2 separate regions of the Homo sapiens genome follow, and region 2 is linked to region 1. Evidence: promoter capture Hi-C in 16 types of primary human blood cells and fetal thymus (Javierre and others, 2016). All regions are on one chromosome and are shown on one strand. The core of a region is centred on a gene start or on the middle of the fragment in contact, and the rest is flanking DNA. Distances in the headings are between cores, read along the strand shown.

The links. The method cuts DNA at HindIII sites, captures the fragments that hold promoters and counts their contacts. A CHiCAGO score of 5 or more calls a contact.
Region 2: a fragment that was not itself captured here is called in contact with the fragment with the promoter of SECISBP2 in region 1 in 2 of 17 cell types (total B cells and monocytes); the score reaches 6.9 in total B cells.

The regions. Positions count from the first base shown.
Region 1 is chr9:89,316,357-89,320,996 of GRCh38, reverse strand. It overlaps SECISBP2 (SECIS binding protein 2), which reads right to left and starts at 2,497. Exons shown (of 17, transcript NM_024077.5): 1 at 2,385-2,497; 2 at 1,200-1,345. The coding sequence starts at 2,420. CKS2 (CDC28 protein kinase regulatory subunit 2) reads right to left here. Exons shown (of 3, transcript NM_001827.3): 3 at 4,294-4,624. The coding sequence ends at 4,572. RefSeq lists a silencer at 2,138-2,457 and an enhancer at 2,628-2,847. The HindIII fragment of the contact is 8,029 bases long and covers 1,021-4,640 here.
Region 2 is chr9:90,767,141-90,771,553 of GRCh38, reverse strand. No RefSeq gene overlaps it. Among named protein-coding and RNA genes, the nearest start is that of SYK, 32 kb to the left of the region's middle. The HindIII fragment of the contact is 772 bases long and covers 2,653-3,424 here.

The DNA.
Region 1 (4,640 bases), core at 1,248-3,747:
CATTACAATTCTCATTCTTGCAAATATAATTCTAGAATTTATATACAGTACAAACTATTTTCAATTACATCATGCAGGCACAAATAAAAGGAAACAAGTTAGAATCATATCAAAGAAGAAAAAAGCATTAGGATTCTTAGATTAGAACTACACCTGATGCAAATCTTAAAAACAGATCTACAAATAAATCTACACAATTATGTGAAAGATTAATACTTTTTTTGTCTAAATTCAGCTGCAAGAGGAAGCCATTTTGTAAACCTAGAGAATGAATCCTGAGAAGGAAAAAGAAAATGTAAGGAAAAATGTAAGCCTTCTTTCAACTCAAATTTAGAAGAACTTAAGCCTGAAATGTGTAAAATTCATCTCCATATTAACAGATATAAAGTAAAAAGGTGGAAAGCAAAAGTCAACAATTTCCAAAAAATTATCCACACAGAGGCAGCTATGGTTGCTAGTCCCCTCCCCTTCGCTCAACAAGATTTTAAAATGTTAACCTTAAAAAGGAGGAGTACGTTTATTTGGTCCTTTCTTTGCCCTTCCCTCCACATTTCATCTCCCATTAGATATATGATATATTTTTAAACCATATGAACAAATGAACCTTGAAACGGGATTTTTTTTTTTTTTTTTTTTTTTTTGAGACAGAGTCTCACTCTGTCAGCCAGGCTTGAGTGTAGTGGTGCTATCTTGGCCCACTGCAACCTCTGCCTCCCAGGTTCAAAGGATTCTGCTGCCCCAGTCTCCCGAATACCTGGGATTACAGGTGTCCGCCACCATACCTGATTAATTTTTGTATTTTTGTGGAGACGGAGTTTCACCATGTTGGTCACACTGGTCTTGAACTCCTGACCTCAGGTGATCCACCCACCTCGGCCTCCCAAAGTGCTGGGATTACAGGCGTGAGCCACAGCGCCTGGCCTGAAACTGCATTTCTTATTAACAAATGCAATGCAGTCTCTACTATTTCTTTGCCGAAAATAACAATGAGTATGAAGAAAAAAAAGGGGAGTTAAAGCTTCTGTTTTTGGCACAGGATACAGTTAAGTTGTGCTACTGGCTCAGACTCTTCTTGGTTGAAGAGCATTCTCTCATCATCTGCAGAACTTTAGTGCAGTAACTGCTGAGTATTTGAAAGTCTAATCACCATTAAATCCAAAATGTAAGCCCCTAGGTAAGACTTTTAGAAAGATACATACTCTGTCACTGGTGGTTCCTGAACAAACGGATAGTATGTGGCTGCAGAGCTGGGGAAGACACATGCTTCTGAGGACTCTAACCATGCCACATTGAGCCCGGCAAATCTGGGGACAAATGGTTTGACATCTGCTGATAACTTGATGCCCTGAGGAAAAATATGAGGTTTTGGCCACAAACATTCAGAGATCAAGCAAATATAAACAAACAAAAAGACCCAAGAGGTGTTCCTAATAGCCCCAGAAATGTTCCCGATGTTGTTTAAAAACTTCTGCCTCGTAAAGACAAGAACCTGCTTGCTAACGATTTCTCCCCAATGCTTTTTTTTTTGTAGAAAAGGCAGTAGTTCAAACATTAAAAGTGAAAAATGACAACGAATTCAAGTGGAAATAAAACAACACAGATTATATAGTTTAGATCTTGGAATAAGGGTGTTTTTACCACAGATTCACTTAGAAATAATAGAACTGCACACAGTACAACTACTGCAGTCAAATACACGTGGACTGTTTAACTACAGCACCCAAAACACACTGCAGACGTTTATTTCCATTACATTTTCTTGAAAAAGTTGCACAAAAGCATATGCATTTTACTCATGAACCACTAAGTCTTGCTTTATTGAAATACCAAACCTTGCTTTGCTAGAAAATATTATCACCACGAGCCTTTGAAATTTCAATTCACTAAGATTTCTTTCTTTAGTTTTTAGTGACGTAGTAAGAGATTTACTTTCACCGAGAATTTTATGGGTCTAAAAATGATGCAAGCGATCGCCAGGGCTCCATCTAGTGGTAATGCTGAGTACGTAGAGCGGAGAATGACGTTCAGAAAAACGCAGGATCCTTTAAAACAATCTATCCGTTCCCAAGAGCGCGGGAAGCTCGCCAGAGTCCCCCCGCCCCGACTGCGGGGAGCGCCGGGCTGGGCCGCAGTCACTGCGCTGGGTGACATCGCACCACAGACGCGGCGCTAACTGTGGGCGGGGTCTGTAGCCGCTGACCGCCACCCCAAGGCGGACCCGAGGCGGGGCGCGAAGATCGCGGCCACCCGGTAGGGCGCTCCCGTGCCGTCACCAGCATCCGACCCACGCCCGCTGGACCAGCCCCGTCACCGCCCGGCCGAGCCCCCAGTGCGAGGCAGGCGGACGGACTGAGGCTGCCGAGAGAGCCCCCGTCGGCCCTTACCTCGCTTTCGGGCTCCCGCGGCCCCTCCGACGCCATGCCGCGAGGCGCGGAGGAGGCCGCGTCACGGAGGCCAGCAGCGGGCCGTCGGCTTGCCGGACAGACAAAGCGTTTCCGCCCCCGCAGGCGACGCCAGGAAGTGCGTCACAGCAAAGCGACAGAGCCCGCCCTTTCTTCCGGCCGGAAGTACGCGGCGGCGGCACTGGACCTGCGCGGGCAGCACGTGGAGGCAGTGGGGCGCTTGCGGAAAATGGGGACCCCCAGGAGTCCTCTGGGCTGGGGACCCACCGTAGCTTGCGGGAGTCTTGGATCTGCCTTTTAGTGCTGGGATATCGGAGATAGTCTCCACCAAGGCAGTAGCGACTATAAACAAGAGTTAGGCCGTGATTTACTTTTCTCCCCTGGGCCTCACGAGTCTAGCGTTAGGACGGGATGGGGTAGTCTGGAAAGGCCTCTCGCTGAGGTGACCTTTGAGCAGTCACCTGAAGAGAAAGATTTACTAATAAGGAAACTGAGGAGGCCGAGATTACTCTCACCCCCGCCACTGCATTTCCCTAAAATTTCCCCAAGATTGGTGACTTACAGGAATTGCATACCCTGTAGGTCCTACAAACCTGGAAAGCCTACAAGACTCTTGATGGTATCCTAAATTTCCAGAAACCTTAAGTTTGGAAGTAGCCACAGAAAATAATTTAAAAATCGCTCGGTTTCTTTCAAAAATTAAAAAAAGTGCTAAGATATGGTCAAGAGATGGAATAGTATAATTTTCACGAGAAAAAAAAAGTTCTACACAGAGCAAATTCGTTAAATATTGAGAGAAATGTATAAAGTGCGGCAGGGATAGGAGGTTGACCAAAAGTACAGGGAAGAATGCAGAGTGGATTTCAATAGATGGAGGAGGAACTTTCCTCTCACTCAAAGGCTTGGAGGAAAGTGCAAGTGGATTTAAGGAACAGAAAATGTCAGCAAAACAGGCTATTTGAGGAATGGGGATTAGGTTGAGGCAAATTGTAGGTTTCCTCTGTCCCTTGCACAGACGTTAACTCTACCATTGAATACGAAGTATTTCAAGCAAGTAAGGCAGGTGCAGCTCCAGTTTTTTCAGATTTCTGTCCTGGTGGGTCTCAGTTCACTACACAGCCTCTAGCAGAAGTGATCCTTAGGGTCTGGTCTGGCAGGAATTTATGCTGGAAGTTTAGGGGTAGCTGTCGCCTTCCTTTCAGCACTATTGGGTCTACCCGGAAGTGTAATGAAGTTTACTTGATTTTGTCATGTTTCTGTTGGTTACCCTGGACACAACCTATGGTAGTGGCAGTAGATTTTAGGATGCTGCTAATCACAACCTTCAAAATTTATTGCCCTCATGTGTAAAGACACCCTTTCTTAACCAATGGACCTGATGTATGCTGGCTGCTCATTTAAGATGTTTCTATAGCATAGCAATTAATTAGAATAACTCCAAAACACTTTCCTAGCAGCTAAAAAGGCAAAGGTGTTTTACAGTGTTTTTGAACTTTTAAAAATGTGGTGATACTTTATAGGAAACATTATCCCTACTTTGGAAATGTAGAAGAGGATAAAAAAGAGGTTTCTCCCAAGACCACCAGTGGCCAGTGAAGTAGCCCAGATAGTATTAATTTGGGCTTTCCTGTTCTAGACAATTCTCCAGGAATTCAAGAGGTAAAATCTACTTTGGCTTTAGTTTAAACATATCCCTGGTAATTAATTTCTTCATTAAGTGAATTAAATGGTATCCAGATCATACCGCACTATTTTAAACTCATTTAACATCATCTTTAAGGTAAGTTAACTTCCTCAGAGCTAAAACTATAACACTGAAATCAATTTCAATAGTCACAAATTTCAATAGTCACAAATTAAGAAAATATACCTCAAAAACTTGAAACAGTGATAAATGCAACATACAAACTTTATTGAACAAAAGTAAACTGTTTCAGTAAACTCAAACAGGCACTTAAGAGAAAAACTGACTGGAAGAACTTTTATCTTAAACATCTTACAGTAACCTACTTGCAGTTGCATTTAACTGAGCTCTGTTGCTGTGAAGAATACAGCTCATGCACAGGTATGGATGAAAGATTTGTACATTTCTCAAGTATTCACTGAATACTACCTTATATACACATATACATTAAATTTGAAAAAGATTTGACGATCCCCAGATAAACTTCATTTTTGTTGATCTTTTGGAAGAGGTCGTCTAAAGAGAAGAATATGTGGTTCTGTGGAAAGAAAATG
Region 2 (4,413 bases), core at 1,789-4,288, 1.5 Mb before region 1:
TTGGCCCAAGCTATACATTGAGTAAATGGTACTATCTTGTGTCAGATCCAGATTTGTAATGGAGGAAACCAAAATATTTCACCTCCAAATATCCTTCTTTGACATATTTTGAGGTGGCTGTTCAGAGGGCCTGCAAACAGAGGTAGCCTTGCAAAGCTGTCCTTTGCGGGGAGATTTGCATCTGTACAGAATCAGCATGGTGCAGCCAGGTTTTCTCTGAGGCTAACCCTTGTCCAGATCAAGAAAAGATTAACAGAGTCTGACACCTTAAATTTCTGAAATAAACATTTACCATCTATTCTCTCTGAGGACTGCTACCTGTAAGGTTTCACCTGTATAATAAGACCACATTTGCAAGCCAGACCTCCTCTTCTCTTCCTCCCATAACCTGCCTTGACATCATAACCTGATTTACCACCGCAACCAGTTTTTGGCCGTACTCCAAGCCCACATTTTTTCTGTAACCTTAAGCTGTGTATAGGCTGGATGTGGTGACTCCTGCCTATAATCCCAGCACTTTGGGAGGCCAAGGCAGGAGGATCACTTGAGGCCAGGAGTTCAAGTTCAAGGCAACATAGCGAGACCCCCATCTCTACAAAAAGTGAAAAGAATTAGCCAGCCATGGTGGCACAGGCCTACAGTTCCAGCTACTCAGGAGGCTGAGGCGGGATTGCTTGAAGGACTGCTTGAGCCCAGGAGTTTGAGGCTACAGTAACCATGATCCTGCCATTGCACTACAGCCTGGGCAAGAGAGTGAGACCCTATATCAAAAGCCTTTAAAAAGATAGTGTAAAAGTCTCAACCTCCTTACCATTTCTTGGAGATCTTTGTAAGATTCCTGTGCACATTAATAAATATGTGTGCCTTTTCTCCAATTAATCTGTCTCTTGTCAGTTGATTTTCAGTGACCCTTCCAAGGGCAAAGAGGAAGTTTCCCCTTGGCACCCACAGGAACAACTGCCCCTCACTACCTTCTGCTTCACAGTTTCAAATGACTGGCCACTCACCAAAAGGCAGAAGAGGTTCATGAGTTCCTCTTTTTCTCATTTGCACTTGACCTCTTTCTCATAACACACATCCAGCCATGTCTTCTACATATTTTTTTCCCCAGTAAAACATCTGTGACTCATAGTTGTAAAAAATCAAATGAAATAGTAAAAATGTTTTAAAAGTACATCTCAGGGCTGCTTCCCTTAGAGGCTGCTGCTGCGCAACACTAAAGGACATACATGAAGGTGTGAGAGAGCAGCGTGACATGTGTCCCATGGTCCCCATGGTTTATACACTTGGTTTTCCAGAAAGCATCTCTGGTCAGCACAGATGCAGAATTTCTGGTTCAGTGCAGTTGGCTGAGCACTTGTGCTTAATGCCCCACCCACAAGAGACCCCATTGAAAACGATTTTGAAAGAGGGAACAAAATGTCACTGCAGACACCACTGGAGGTGAGGTGGCAGGTGGGATTTCACTTCGGGCCAGATTGAAGACTGGTTGAAACAGGGAAGAGGCATGCCTACCAGCACCATGATGGTTTACGACTGCCGTGCCAACACCTGGAAGTTACCACTTCTGTTCTAGAAATTTCTGAGTAACCCACCCCTTAATTTGCATGTAATTAAAAGTATGTATAAATATAACTGGAGAACTGCCTCTGAACTGCTACTCAAACACACGGCCTTTGAGGTATCCTGGTTCTGCAGAGGCAGTCACAGAGCTGTAACACTGTTGCCCCAATAAAAGCCATTTTTTTCTACCACCAGCTCATTCTTGAAACCTTTCCTGAGTGAAGCCAACAATTTTCCCAGGCTAAGCCCCAGTTTTGGGACTGGCCTGCCCTGCATCAAGTGGCATTCCTAGCTGCTCTCACAGAAGGCCTATGCCCTCCCTGGAGCCTCCTCAGTGCCGCCGTTCTGAGGAGGGTCCTGCCAGTTCTCTAACAAAGGATTCCATCCCAAGGTCATCAGGCACCTCTCCCCCTTATCCAGCTAGCTCCAGCCTATACTTCTTACTGCTCAAAAGAGTAAGCCCAACCAATACCTCCAGAAGTGGACCCCATATCAGCCCCTAAAAGTCAAACCTGTGTCCCTTGCAAGAAGTAGCTGATGAAAATTGGGGAGCACTTAGAGTACATGTGCTATTTTCTATGTCTGATTTGGCTGTATTTAACAAAAAAAATTTGGCTAGTTTTCAGAGGATCCAGAAAAGTTTATAGAGGAGTTTTTTAAGTTGACCATGTTCTTTAATTTAACTTGTCATGACTTGCAAGTATTATCATTTACTTGCTGTGCTATGGAAGAAATGCAGTGGGAAACGGGTGTGGTTTAGCCAATGAGTTATGACAAGGTTAGAGAAATAACTCAGGGAAAATATGAAAGTCCCACTCTGTTTCAGGGTCGTTTGGTTGAGGCACTCAAGAAATATACTAACACAGATCCAGACTCCTCAGAAAGGCAGGCTCTCCTGGGTATGCATTTTATTACTCAATCTTCCCCTGACATCAGGAAAATGCTACAAAAAGCAGCAGCAAGGGGGTCTCACACCCCCATAATCCAACTCCTAAAGACGGTTTTTGGAGTTAAGAACAAAAGTGACAAAGGAGAAGAAGAGGCAAAACCATAAGAAATAGCCAAAAAGTGCAATTATTAGCATAAGCTTTAAGCCCTCTTCCTCCTCAGGGTTACCCATCCCAAGAAAGTGTCACAAGATCAGTGTCTGGAATGCCCAGATGAGAGCCCCAAACTGACTGGCCCCTGGGTCAGAATCAATGTGCCTACTATGAACAAAAGGGCTGTTGACAATGAGACTGTCCTAACTGTCCCTACTGACAGAGAGAAAAAACTCTCCATCAATTCTAGAGCTAACCTTCTTCCACTAGCCCCAATGAGCTGCTTTGCTCAAGTAAGTTTACTAGGGATCTTAGATCCTTTACCTGACAAACAGCTTCCTGCAGTGGCAGACTAGAGGCTGCCTGAACATTTTTCTTCAGTGTTCCACTGCTGGGTGAGCTCTCCAGCAGCTCAGAGACTCAGGTCTCCCCTTCAGTAACACAGTTTGCCCCCTCCTTTCCTTATTGGCTGCTACAGGATCCCCTTCCCTGCCTCTTCCTGTCTTCCATGCCTATTGGGGCAAATAAAGTTTGGTCAGGTAGACAGGTCCCAGTTTTGTAAATAACTTGGATCCTGTTATCCTGCATAGGCCCTTTGTTTGAAGTGTTTGTGTGTATAGACAGGTATTGTGGCATGTCCTGTGTCTAGCATGCTATCAGATTGGCTTATAAATAAAAGAGCAAGAATAAATTAAACATGTAAGTCTAGTCTGAACTTGTTAGTTTGAAAATAATATAGTGCCTTTTACAATTTAACTTTAAGGTAAACCACTGTTGTTTGTAGGTTTTGAACTGGTTAAAATGGCTTTAAATAGCAAGCTTTTTGTGTAGTTGAAAACCTTAAAATTGTGAAATGGTTCTTATCTACAGAATGCCAATGTCTGTTGGGAAGTTCAGGATTTCTTGCCTCCTAGGTTTATATAAAATGTGCCAGGGAAAATATATTCTTTATTGGGAAAAGGAGTAATTTTTGTCAAATTCAGAAGTCATTGAAGGTGAGGTTCAAATTATGAAGCAACCATGAGTGGAAAAAAAAGAGATAGAAAGAAATCTCTAGATAAAAAATGTATTTTTTTTTGCAAGGAAGGATATAAAGAAAGAGTAATTTTGTATAAAAAGATATTCTACAGTAAACTCTTGTCCTAGAGGAAAATGAATGGTTATTTAAGAAAGAGGTAGTATAGGACAAGTCAAAATGTCCAAGCATGTGGTAGATGGTATATGTAAGTTGTGATAAGGTTCATAAAGGGGAATTTATGAAAGGAATTTTATGTGTGATTAAGCTAGCTGTAATTAAAAGAAAATTGTATATAATAGACTTTCTAAAAATAGTCTCCATGTCAAACCAAATTTTCTTACAGTATTAATTTGCTAAATTACCCAAAATTTTGCTTTTCGATTTCATATTCTATTTCTTTTAAAAGCCTCTTGCTTCTCAGAGTCATATAACTGTGTCCTTTAGCCTTTTCATCAGCTCCTGTGACATTTTCTCTTCTGGTTCTGAGTGTTATTGTGGCCTGATACTAAAGTGTTTTGTCTCAGAGGTCTATAAAAGCTGTGTTTTTCTCCAATATAACTTGATTCTATACTCTTGGTTTTTCTTGATGTTTCTAAATTTTCAGTGTAACCAGAAAACTTTCTCAGTTCCCCTGCTACACTCATAATCTTAAATACACTTTTCCTGCATCTGATTAAATTCAAGTATTATGTTTTTCTTCATCAAACTCAACTTTCAGGTTATTTAAGTGGAGTTCCCATATGGAGAGGTAATCACAGTGCCAAGGATATTTAACTTTGGATAAATAAGTAA